3 separate regions of the Homo sapiens genome follow, and regions 1 and 3 are each linked to region 2. Evidence: promoter capture Hi-C in 16 types of primary human blood cells and fetal thymus (Javierre and others, 2016). All regions are on one chromosome and are shown on one strand. The core of a region is centred on a gene start or on the middle of the fragment in contact, and the rest is flanking DNA. Distances in the headings are between cores, read along the strand shown. Region 1 overlaps LINC02837 (long intergenic non-protein coding RNA 2837). Region 2 holds the start of MBD1 (methyl-CpG binding domain protein 1). Region 3 overlaps DYM (dymeclin).

Region 1 (4,056 bases), core at 1,190-3,689, 780 kb after region 2:
TGAGGCAGGAGAATGGCGTGAACCCGGGAGGCGGAGCTTGCAGTGAGCCAAGATCATGCCACAGCACTCCAGCCTGGGCAAAGAGCAAGACTCCATCTCAAAATAAATAAATAAATAAATACAAAAATTAGGTCGAGCGCAGCGGTTCACGCCTGATATCCCAGCATTTTGGGAGGCCAAGGCAGGCGAATCATGAGGTAAAGAGATCAAGACCATCCTGGCCAACATGGTGAAACCCTGTCTCCAGTAAAAATACAAAAATTAGCCAGGCATGGTGGCAGGTATAATCCCAGCTACTTGGGAGACTGAGGCAGGAGAATCACTTGAACCCAGGAGGCGGAGGTTGCAGTGAGCTGAGATTGCACCATTGCACTCCAGCCTGGGCAACAATTGCAAAACTCCATCTCAAAAAAAAAAAAATATTCTTAGGGTTTGGGGCTTTTTTGGGGGGGGTTGGGGTGTAACTATGGTAAATGGGATTACCTTTTAAATTTTTTTTCTTTTTTTTGAGATGGGAGTCTTGCTATGTTGCCCAAGCTGGTCTGAACTACTGGGCTCAAGCAATCTGCCTGCCTCAGCCTCCCGAGTAGCTGGGATTACAGACGTACACCATTGTGCCATCTTGATTTCTTTTCTTGTTTGTGTCTAGAAATGCTACTTGTTTTTGAATACTGATTTTGTATCCTGCAACTTTACTAAATTCACTTATTAGTTCTGAGACTTATTGAGTAGAGTCTTTATATTTTTCTCGTTTTTTGAGACAGAGTCTTGCTCTGTTGCCCAGGCTGGAGTGTGGTGGTGTGATCTCGGCTCTCTGCAACCCCCACCTCCCAGGTTCAAGTGATTTTCCTACCTCAGCCTCCTGAGTAACTGGGATTACAGGCATGCACCACCACGCCCAGCTAATTTTTTTGTATTTTTAGTAGAGACAGGGTTTCGCGATGTTGACCAGTCTAGTCTCAAACTCCTGACCTCAAGTGATCCACCATCCTCTACCACCCAAAGTGCTGGGATTACAGGCATGAGCCACTGCGTCCGGCCTGATTTTTCTATATATAAAATCATGTCATCTGTAAACAGGGACTATTTTACTTCCTTCTTTTCAAATTGAATGTCCTTTTTTCTTTCTTTTGCCTAATTGCTCTGGCTAGGACTTCCAGTATTATGTTGTAATTCAAGAAATATTTGTTGAGAACTTATCATAAACAAAAAAATTATTCTAGGCACTAGAGGAAAAAAAAACAGACAAGAACTATGTCTTCTGCCAGGCACAGTTGCTCATGCCTGTAATCCCAGCACTTTGGAAGGTCGAGGTGGGCGGATCACCTGAGCTCAGGAGTTCGAGACCAGCCTGGCCAAAATGGCGAAACCCCCTCTCTACTAAAAATACAAAAATTAGCCGTGGTGGCATGCGCCGGTAATCCCAGCTACTGGGGAACCTGAGGCAGGAGAATCATCGAAACCCGGGAGTCGGAGGTTGCAGTGGGCCAAGATCACGCCACTATACTCCAGCCTGGGCGACAGAGCAAGGCTCTGTCTCAGAAAAAAAAAAAAAAAAAAAAAAGAACCATGTCTTCATGAAGCTTACATTTTTTGAAAAGGAGATAGAAATTTAAGAAGAAAACTAATAAATGTGATAATTTCATTCAGTGAGATATGTTGTGAAGACAATAAAACAAGATTATGTCAGAGAGGAGCTCCATAGACTGAGTGTCAGGGAAGGAGTTAAGGCTTCAGTGACTGGAAGAAGCCAACACGTGAAGACCTAGTTGTAAATCATTGGAAGGAAGGGCAAAAGCAAAGGCATCAAGACAGGAATGAGTTGACTGTATCCCTGAAGCAGCAAGGAGCCAATGTGGCTGGAGCAAAGTCAGTGCAGAGGAAAAGTATAGGAAATGAGGGCCTGGAGCTAGATCAGCCTGCACAGCACAGTAAGCAGTTTGGACTTTATTGGGTGTGAAATGTGAAGTCTTTCAAGGGTTTTAACCTGGGAAGTGCTTTGGAGAGAAGTGGGGAGTGTTATATTATATAGTTTATATTTTTTAAAGATTACATTTTCTGGTTATAGTTATCATAGTTCTAGAAACTGTATTTTAGGACAACCAAATCACCCCAGTTAATAAGAGAAAGCTCTTTTTACAAAGAATGCCAAGCTATTCAGATTAAAGAAAAATAAAGAGACATGGCAACCAAACACAATGCCTTATTCTGAATTTGGCTCTTCGTCCAAAAAAAATTCTATAAAAGATATTGTTGGGAAAATTGGCGGCAATTAAATATGGTCTCTAGGTTAGATAATATTATTATAGTAAATGTTAAATTTTCTGATTCTAAAACTGATTATGAAAGAGAACAACCTGGCCAGGCACGGTGGCTCATGCCTGTAATCCCAACACTTTGGAAAGCCGAGACGGGCAGATCACCTGAGGTCAGGAGTTCAAGACCAACCTGGCCAACATAGTGAAACCCAGTCTGTACTAAAAATACAAAAATTAGCCAGGCGTGATGGTGGGCGACTGTAATCCCAGCTACTCAGGAGGCTGAGGCAGGAGAATCACTTGAACCCCGGAGGCAGAGGTTGCAGTGAGCCGAGATCGCGCCAATACACTCTAGCTTGGGTGACAGCAAGCCTCTGTCTCAAAAATAAAATAAAAAGAAACAACAACCAGATGTCATGTGGGACCTAGATTGGGTCTTGCTTTGTTTCTGGTTTTTTTGTGTGTGTGTGGCTGCTTTGGTTGGTTGGTTTGTTTGTTTGTTTGTTTGTTTGAGACAGAGCCTTGCTCTGTCACCCAGGCTGGAGTGTAGTGACATGATCTCAACTCACTGCAACCTCTGTCTCCCAGCTTCAAGCAATTCACATGCCTCAGCCTCCAGAGTAGCTGGGACTACAGGTGTGTGCCACCACACCCTGCTAATTTTTTCTATTTTTAGTAGAGACAGGGATTCACCATGTTGGCCAAGCTGGTTTCGAACTCCTGGCCTCAAGTGATCTGCCTGCCTCAGCTTCCCAAAGTGCTGGGATTACAGGTGTGAGTCAGTGTGCCTGGCGGGTCTTGCTTTGAACAAACCAACTGGAAAGGACATTTGGGGAACAACTGGGATAACTGAAATTGAGGTTAGGTATTAGAAGAGATGAAAATGTATCAACATGGTAAAATTGAGATTAACTGGAAAAAAATCTGATTATGAAATAGCATGTACAGTATAATTTCACCTGGTAAGTATATATGTATATACATACACACATGAAGTATATATCTCACACTATACTAGAAGGATATATTAAAGCTTAATCTTTTGGAAATATAAGGATTTTATTTTCTTAATCTGCTTACCTGCTATATCTGACTTTCTATAAAACACATATAAATAATCTTAAATTTTTGAATAATTTTAAAATTTTACTTATTATTTATTTATTTATTGAGATGGAGTCACTCTGTCACCCAGGCTGGAGTGCAATGGTGCGATCTTGGCTCACTGCAACATCTGCCTCCCGGGTTCAAGAGATTCTCCTGCCTCAGCCTCCCGAGTACCTGGGATTACAGGCACGCACCACCATGCCCGGCTAATTTTTTCTTTTCTTTTCTTTTTTCTTTTTCTTTTTTTTTTTTGAGACAGAGACTCGCTCTGTCACCCAGACTGGAGTGCAGTGGTGCGATCTCGGCTCACTGCAACCTCCGCCTCCCAGGTTCAAGCCATGCTCCTGCCTCAGCCTCCCAAGTAGCTGGGACTACAGGCGTGTGCCACCATGCCCGGCTAATTTTTTGTATTTTTAGTAGAGAGAGATGGGGTTTCACCGTGTTAGCCAAGATAATCTCCATCTCCTGACCTCGTGATCCACCTGCCTTGGCCTCCCAAAGTGCTGGGATTACAGGCGTAAGGCATCTTGCCTGGCAACTTTTTCTATTTTTAGTAAAGACAGGGTTTCACCATGTTGGCCGGGCTGATCTTAACTCCTGGCCTCAAGTGATCTGCCACCCCGGCCTCCCAAAGTGCTGGGGATACAAGCGTGAGCCACCGCACCTGGCCAATTTTAAATTTTTTAATAAA
Region 2 (4,281 bases), core at 836-3,335:
AGCGCACATCCACAGTTCCCTCCATTTGTGCTCATCCCTCCAGTATGAGAGCCAGACGTCCTTTGGGTCCATGTACCCCACACGCATTGAAGGGTAAGTGAGGGTGCCACGCAGTGAGAGGTGGGGGGTTAAGGCGGGGGTCAGAAGTGGGATGTGTGTGGAGCTGGGGCAGGATACGGGCAACCAGCCAGGACAGATGGACCTCCCTTCCCTCCCTCTACTGCCCTCTCTACTCCAAATCCCCAGGGCCACACGACTCTTCTGTGATGTGTATAATCCTCAGAGCAAAACATACTGTAAGCGGCTCCAGGTGCTGTGCCCCGAGCACTCACGGGACCCCAAAGTAAGGTTTTCCCTCAGCTCCTCCCATTTTGCCCCTCCTCCCTGCCTCGCTGTCCCACATTCATCCCTTCCTTCCTCACCTCACTTTTCCTTCACTTTTTCCTCTCAGCTTCCCTGCTGCTTCACCCTCCATTCCTCCTTTTCCATGCCTCCTCACCGTTCCCTGAACCCTCCATTCTTTTCCTTCTCCCTCCTTGAGCCCCCATTCCTATTCTCCCTTATCACCGCTATTCATCCCCCCAACCTGGCCTCCTTGCAGGTGCCAGCTGACGAGGTATGCGGGTGCCCCCTTGTACGTGATGTCTTTGAGCTCACGGGTGACTTCTGCCGCCTGCCCAAGCGCCAGTGCAATCGCCATTACTGCTGGGAGAAGCTGCGGCGTGCGGAAGTGGACTTGGAGCGCGTGCGTGTGGTAGGTTTCTGTGCGGTTTTGGTGCTGCATGTGGTAGGTTTCCATGTCGGACGTGGCCGGGGCAGGCGGGGCTGCAGGTGTTCCTGCTTAGGACTCCTGCCGCTCCCTTGGCAGTGGTACAAGCTGGACGAGCTGTTTGAGCAGGAGCGCAATGTGCGCACAGCCATGACAAACCGCGCGGGATTGCTGGCCCTGATGCTGCACCAGACGATCCAGCACGATCCCCTCACTACCGACCTGCGCTCCAGTGCCGACCGCTGAGCCTCCTGGCCCGGACCCCTTACACCCTGCATTCCAGATGGGGGAGCCGCCCGGTGCCCGTGTGTCCGTTCCTCCACTCATCTGTTTCTCCGGTTCTCCCTGTGCCCATCCACCGGTTGACCGCCCATCTGCCTTTATCAGAGGGACTGTCCCCGTCGACATGTTCAGTGCCTGGTGGGGCTGCGGAGTCCACTCATCCTTGCCTCCTCTCCCTGGGTTTTGTTAATAAAATTTTGAAGAAACCAAGGAAGCTGTCTCCACATTGCTGCGGTTGCAACTGTTCCAGACTTCTGGATAAGATGGGGGGCGCCTGCACCCCGCGAGAGCCCAGGGACCCACATTCCCAGCCTCCCACGGGCAGAGGGTCTACGCAGCGCGCCTTCAGTGTGGTGACACCGCCCATGCATGCTCCTGTCTCCCACCCAGAGCTGTCGTCCGCTGTGGACGCCAGGCCCCGCCTTTTCCCCACAAGCCCCACGTTGGGGATCCGCCTCCTGCAGGGGCGCGCCCTCCCGCGTGCCTCAGTTTACCTGCGGTGTGGCACCGCCCCTTTCCCCGCCCCGCGCGCTCCCACAGCTGTTCGGCGGGGAGGAGGGAGCGGGACACGACCCCCCCTGGGGTTGATGTTCGGAGGGACCCACGAACACAGGATAGACCCCAGCGAGAGGTGGGAGAGGAGAGCGCCGGCAGGGCCAGGGAGTGCGCAGGCGCGAAGCAGCTTCCTTGCCGCGTTCGGTATCGGCTGTGGAGACCGCGGGAGGGAAGGGAGGGCGCAGGCGCAAGCCCTCCCCGACCGCTTCCCTTCAGGTTGAGGCTGGAAAGCGCATGCGCCAGCTAGATGGGCAGCGAGGAGAGCCGCAACTGCCAGTCCCTCGAAGGGGTTAGCTGTCGTTGAACGTCAGCACGCAGATGCAACTGGCTCTCGGCAGGGGGGCGCGCGCACCGCTGCGGAGCGCCGGCCCGTAGGCGCGGGAGCCTCCCTATTAAGGGCACGCGACATCGAGGCAATAGTGCGCAGGTGCTTAGCCAGAGGCGGAGCCCGAGAGGCAGGCAGCGGACTTCCGGTTCCGGGAGCAACGAACAGCCGCGGAGGCGACAGCTACCGCTTCAGAGGAGGCGGCCGCGGAGGAGGAGGAAGGGGAGGAGGGCGAGGCGGGAGGTGCAGGAGGGACCCTCGCCATGGGTCCACGGGCCTAGAGTGGCGGAAGATACCGGCCTGGTGCCAAACTGGTGAGACAGCCTTGGGGCTGGACGTGGAGAGCGCTCAGGCGGAGGATGGGAAGGAATTGTGGCTCAGAACGCTGACGGGGAGGAATGAAGGGCCCTCAGGCCGATAAGGGGGAGGAATGGCGGCGTCGGAATACTGACGAGGAGAAATGGGGGGATTTAGGCTGAGGACGGGAAGGAATGCAGCTCTGAACTCTGACAGGTAGGAGTGTCGGGATCCTGGGACGAGGACGGAGAGGAATGGTGGAGATCAGAACGCTAAAGGGAGACATCGGGGCATCTGAAGTTGAGAGAGAAATGGGGGTTCAGAACTCTGAGAGGGAGAAATGAGGGGCCCTCAGGCTGATGACAGGAGAAATAGAGGCTTTGGAATGCTGAAAGGGAGGAATAGGAGGCCCCATATAGAGGACGAGGAGCAGTAGGGGATCAGAATGGTGACAGTTAGGGATGGCATGATCCCGGGACAAGAACAGAGAGAATGGAGGAGGGTTCGGAATGCTGAGGGGAGAAATTAGGGTCTCTCTGGATGATAAGGGAGGAATGGAGGATGAGAACAGTAAGGAGGAGAAGTGGGGAACTTTTTGGCTGTAGAGGAAGGTTTGGGAGCTCAGACTAGGGAGAAATTGTGGGTGAGAACATTGAAGGAGAAGAAAAATAAGGGGGGAGGTCTTGGGCTGAGGAAGGGGAGGCATGGGAGGCTTCCAGTGTGAGGAATGGAAAAGATGAGGGGCTGTTCAGGCTATGGGTTGGAGCAGTTGTGTCTCGCAGAGGAAGTCGAGGTTGTAACACTGAGGTAGCAGGATAAGAGGACATCAGGCAGAGAAGGAATGGAGTGGTTAAAACACTGAAGGAGGGAAATTAGGAACTCCTGGGTCAAGGAAGGGGGGAATGAGAGACTACTGAAGTCAAGTAGTGAGGGCAAGAGAAATGGGGCCCTTTGGGGCTGAGGATGGGGACTATGGGGGTCTTGGGGTGATAAAATAGAGGGATAGAGGCCCTTAGGTCAGTGACAGGGAGGAATGAGGGGGAAGGATGAAAAGTTTCTGGATTGGCAGTGAGGAGAAATGATGGGTTGTCAGTCTGAGGATAGAGAGGAGTAGGGGATTAGGACACTGAGAATAAGAAACAGGGATCCTTGGGTTGAGGAATGATGATATCCTAGGCCCAGAATAGGAAAGAATGGGGTGAGAATATGAGGGGTTTCTTTTCCATATATGGGCTGGTTGCCTGTGGCAGGTCCTAGGGCTTGGGCAAGCACTAATGGATACCAGTGATTTGTGTGGCCTGGGGCACAGTGTTGTCCCTTCCTAGAGCCTCAGTTTCCCTCATCCCTTCCACCCCCTTTCAGGCTACTGCTGCTTCCTGTGGCCTCCATGGCTGAGGACTGGCTGGACTGCCCGGCCCTGGGCCCTGGCTGGAAGCGCCGCGAAGTCTTTCGCAAGTCAGGGGCCACCTGTGGACGCTCAGACACCTATTACCAGAGGTACTGGGTGGGTAGTGGGCAGAGTCAGGAGTGGGGTAGAGCCTGATTCTGGTAAAATCAAATGGTGTGGTTAAATTTATGGATGAAGTTTAAATTATGCACATACAGTTAATCCTTATTAGCGGATTTTATGTTTGAATTTCACCTACTTAATAAAATTTATTTGTAACTTAAAAGTCACTACTCACAGTGCATTTGTGATTATTCAAGAATACGTACAGAGCAGTGAAAAACTGTCACTCAATGCATGTATTTCTAGCTGAGGCTGAAGGAGCCCTTTTCAGCTTTAATACTGTAAACAGGTGTCCTTTTCGTGGTCTGTTTAGTGTCACATTTTTCTAATTTTTGTACTTTTTGGTGATTTTGCTTTTTAAAATGGTCCCCAAGCATAGTGCTGAGGTGCTGTTTAGTGTTCTGTGAGAAGACTATGTCGTGCTTTATGGAGAAAATACAAGGCAGATAAACTTTGCTGGTTATCTGAGTTACAATGCTGTTGGCTGTAAGTTCAATGTTATGCATCAGAATTATGGTACAACCAGAAAAAGAAGGAAATTTG
Region 3 (3,995 bases), core at 1,180-3,679, 830 kb after region 2:
AATCTTGCTGCTGCTCACTCTTTGGGTCCACACTGCCTTTATGAGCTGTAACACTCACCGCGAAGGTCTGCCGCTTCACTCCTAAGCCAGCGAGAGCACGAACCCACCAGAAGGAAGAAACTCCGAACACATCCGAACATCAGAAGGAACAAACTCTGGACATGCCGCCTTGAAGAACTGTAACACTCACTGTGAGGGTCTGTGGCTTCATTCTTGAAGTCAATGAGACCAAGAATCCACCAATTCCAGACACACTGCCATGTATAACCCTACTGCAAATAGTAGAGTGAGTATAGCAATTCCCACAAGTGTGGTGTAGTAGATACTTTCCATCTAAAATTTTATTTGCCAAGGTATCCAGATTTTTGTGTTACCCATCTCTTTTTGTTTCTTGTAAGCTTCAGGAGATCACCACTTGATTCACAGGAATAAGCAGTGTTAGTCTAAAATGTAGGCACACAACTTAAAAACAATTAATGTGACTAGGATTTAATGACAAATGTATGATAAGCTTTGGAGCATATTTTCTCTCTCTAGTCCTGATTTTGGTAAAAACAAATTATGATAGGACCGTGTTGTTTGTAGAATAAACCTTAGTCTTATATTTGGCCTTGTTATTTGCATAAAGTTCAGCAAGAGTAATTATTTCTGCATAGTCCTTTTGGATTGGCTTCGATGGAACTCTGTTCCACAAGAAATCTCAGATAAGACTTCTTAAAGCTGAGCCCAGCATGGGTTTGTATCTTCAAATACCTGTGAGTTGGGTGATCCTTTTCTCTTAAGGTCCCAAGATAAACTTGGAGCTCCTGGACCTGTTAGAAAGTGACATTCTTTACTGACCAAAGGTTAGGAACCCTGTGCGGGGACTGTGTAGACAAGGTATGAGGCCAGTTCTTCCCATGGGGCTTTTTCAGCTCTGCAAGTGGAGGTTGACTCCTTAAAGGGAAGCATACACTTCCAGTCAAAGCCTTGATAAAATAGCCAGTTTTTCCATTTGTGTCCTGTTGAAAAAGAAAAATGGATTCTTATTTCACTGATGCAAACAACTATATTGCCATAAGTTAAGAGTTCTCACAGATTAGAGGAACCAGGCAGAGAGAAACAATCATGCTTCAAGTTTTGTTCACAGGAGTATACCTTACTCAATTATTAAAGGCTGTAAATAGTTCAAAATAAGTTTCCTTGACTCTGAAAAACAAACCAAGGATCAGCAATATTCCAAGCAAAAGTCAAAAAGATTGCTTTAGCTTTCTGAGTGTAGTCCATTTAGTCAATTCTTGTTTTGCTTGATATTTGTGAACATTTCAGTTCATGAGTCCTGTACGTTCTTTCTCTCTTCCAATGTTACAATCTTCAAAGCTGTTAAAAACCTGCATTTGAGGACACCTGTTGAAAGTCCTTAATATAGCTTGATTATAAACTGTCTTTTCAGAAGGAACAAAGCAAAACAACAATTGTCTGTGCATGACAAAATTTCCAGGTTACAGTTAAAAACATGACGGAAAAAGTTTAGTTAACCTTAATTATGATTGATAGTATATACTTAGACATTAGAATTTTAGAAATCCCATACAATTTTGGAACATATATTAGTATTATTCACCAAAATATAACTTAAAGAAGATTGGACATCGTTTTGGCAATTCTAATGTGACTAAACATGTCAGATAATCCTGTTTACCTCTTCTCTGGATGTTTCAGGGGCCTTCTGAACAATCCAGAAAGCCAGGCATCAGGAAGGACAATTTTGAAACTTGAAGCTTGATTTTGGGATGCCTTTTAAATGTTAGAGGTTTAAAACACTTGATGTTATGAAATAGAATTCCAAATTGCCATTATTTATTTTGCCAAAATGATGTCACAAAAGGAAAAAATCTTTCATCATCCTTTACTATTACATGAAAATCCTGTTTAAAGCCAAATTTTACCCTTGTATTAGTTTATTAAAGTTGTAAACAACCTTTTGATAAAACCTCATAGGAAAGTTCACCTAATCTTAACCAATGACCATGGGGTGAAGTCTTTACAAACCCTTTACAACCCCTTTTGTTAAACGGCAGATTAGTGTCTTAAGACAGCCTTGCCGTGTTTTTCTTTCAATGCTCAATTTAGGAAAAGACCATATAATACCCTTTTGAATTTAGTTAATGTTTATACATTTTTGCAAGATTAATTTTTGTCTTCCTGTAACTTGCTTAAACCTTTAGCTCTGTCTTATTAAATTTAAGATAATCTCTTATCCCTGGGCAAAATTTATATTTTCATGCTTTCTTATAATCTTTTACTAAAAAACACATTTCACTGTTTTTATAAGCCTTGCATATAAAACTTTAGAGATCTCAAATACATGTTGCACTGTTAACTCTCAGCAACTTTTACTTTAGGTAAAAAACCTGGTTAGTAAGTGATTTTAATTATATACCAGGTGTGGAGTCTAGGACCCAGACAAAGTCAGGCTTATGGGGTCCTGGGCCTGCATCCTAACCTAAGGTACCCTTTCTTTTGACAGAACGCTACAGAAAGACACACAAAGCACACCAGATTGGTTACAGCTTAAGACCAACCTCACAAATTCTTTTTTATTAATTAAAACTTTACAGAGAATAAACAATCATCCTTATTATCCTTGTTACTGGTTTGCACAGGAAGAGATAAGCCAAAATGTTGACTGGTAAAAAAACTTTTACCCTTTTGCCAGCATGTCAGGCTTCTGGGTTCCCTTCCCATTAGCTCAACTCTAAGTCAACCATTTTAAGGTTTGGGGAAATTAACTTTTCCTACTTTGGAGGAACATTATACAGGAAGAGATAGGAACCATTGTACACTGTGAAAGAAGGAAAAACACCATAGAAAAGTCTGGGGATTCCAGTTAGGGTTGTCAAGAGGTACCGCCTCTCTTCCTATTGGGAATTGTGTTTCTCTTATTTCTTTGCCTTCCCTATTTTCTCTTTTCGTTTTAGGCCTACTATAGGAAACGTTGCTTATCTTTCAATTTCTTTGCTGCCTGCTCTTCAGCTGTAATTAGGGTTTGGCTTAGAAGCAACATAAAATCTCTTCATGAGAGGTGAAACACCTGAGTTAAATTTTGGAAAGCTTCTATATACCTATCAGGGTCTTCAGAAAATTGGCCTCAGTCACCTTTATTTGCCTAAGGTCTTGCAAAGAGGAGGGAACTTGAACCCTAGTGACATCACCTCCATTGGGCATTTCCTGTAGAGGTAAGAGTGAAAGTGGGGAGTGGGAAATTTTGGAGATGGTGGAGGTGGAAGAACTGGTGGTATGGTTGGAGGTGGCCCTAAATAAGGGGGACTTGAAGGGCTGGGACACCCAATAGCTGCCTCAGATGATTTCCCCAGAAGTTGCTTCTCTCATTTTGGGGAATTATTCTCTTTGGGCCTGCTCAATATGATTGCTAAAAGGGCTGGGTTAATTCTGTAACGCTTGCAAAGGTCTAGTAAAAAGGCCATGCCCTGTGCAAAAGAAAATGAGCTGCTTTTTAAAGTTTCAGGGTCAAAGAAATCCTTGTGCTTCAGAATGCACTCCAGGGGAGTGCAGGATGAAGATGGTACCCACTTAGAGAAAAAGGTGGCCCTTTAGTCTCCTTCCTTTTGGTGTGACCCATGGTGGAGAGGAAGCAGTGGGGGCATCCCCCCTGCTTTTTTCCCCCTGTGTTTCCTGGGTCCCAGGCACCTTGTTGAACATGCTGCCCATGGTTGCAAGTGTGACCCCCAGTCATGGAACCAGAGGAACTAAGTCACTGGGGCTAGTCATGCTCACCCAAGTGGCTGTAGTCCTCTGCCTGTGATTTCCCTTTAACTTCCTAGACTTGTGTGACTTGCCTGGCTTCCTGAAAAATGGATTTCAAGAAAAACTACATAATAGTTGGGCAAGGCCCCTTTAATGCAGGGGATGTGCTAGATTGAACTCTGTATCCTGCTATTATGGCCTGTGCTGAAGCATTTACCCTTAGATAATGGTTCCAGTTAACTTCCAAA

What was found. Contacts are between HindIII fragments. The CHiCAGO score rates a contact against its expected background, and 5 or more counts as called.
Region 1: a fragment that was not itself captured here is called in contact with the fragment with the promoter of MBD1 in region 2 in 9 of 17 cell types (total CD4 T cells, naive CD8 T cells, non-activated CD4 T cells and 6 more); the score reaches 10.7 in total CD4 T cells.
Region 3: a fragment that was not itself captured here is called in contact with the fragment with the promoter of MBD1 in region 2 in 1 of 17 cell types (activated CD4 T cells); the score reaches 6.5 in activated CD4 T cells.

What each region holds. Positions count from the first base shown.
Region 1 is chr18:49,501,839-49,505,894 of GRCh38, reverse strand. All of the region lies in intron 2 of LINC02837 (long intergenic non-protein coding RNA 2837), which reads right to left. Among named protein-coding and RNA genes, the nearest start is that of LINC02837, 4.5 kb to the right of the region's middle. The HindIII fragment of the contact is 1,708 bases long and covers 1,586-3,293 here.
Region 2 is chr18:50,279,327-50,283,607 of GRCh38, reverse strand. It overlaps MBD1 (methyl-CpG binding domain protein 1), which reads left to right and starts at 2,085. Exons shown (of 17, transcript NM_015846.4): 1 at 2,085-2,245; 2 at 3,591-3,725. The coding sequence starts at 3,616. CXXC1 (CXXC finger protein 1) reads left to right here. Exons shown (of 15, transcript NM_014593.4): 12 at 44-93; 13 at 247-343; 14 at 602-754; 15 at 869-1,261. The coding sequence ends at 1,015. RefSeq lists enhancers at 846-1,426, 1,427-2,007 and silencers at 2,153-2,262, 2,273-2,352. The HindIII fragment of the contact is 20,722 bases long and covers 1-4,281 here.
Region 3 is chr18:49,448,310-49,452,304 of GRCh38, reverse strand. All of the region lies in intron 1 of DYM (dymeclin), which reads left to right. Among named protein-coding and RNA genes, the nearest start is that of DYM, 10 kb to the left of the region's middle. The HindIII fragment of the contact is 1,333 bases long and covers 1,763-3,095 here.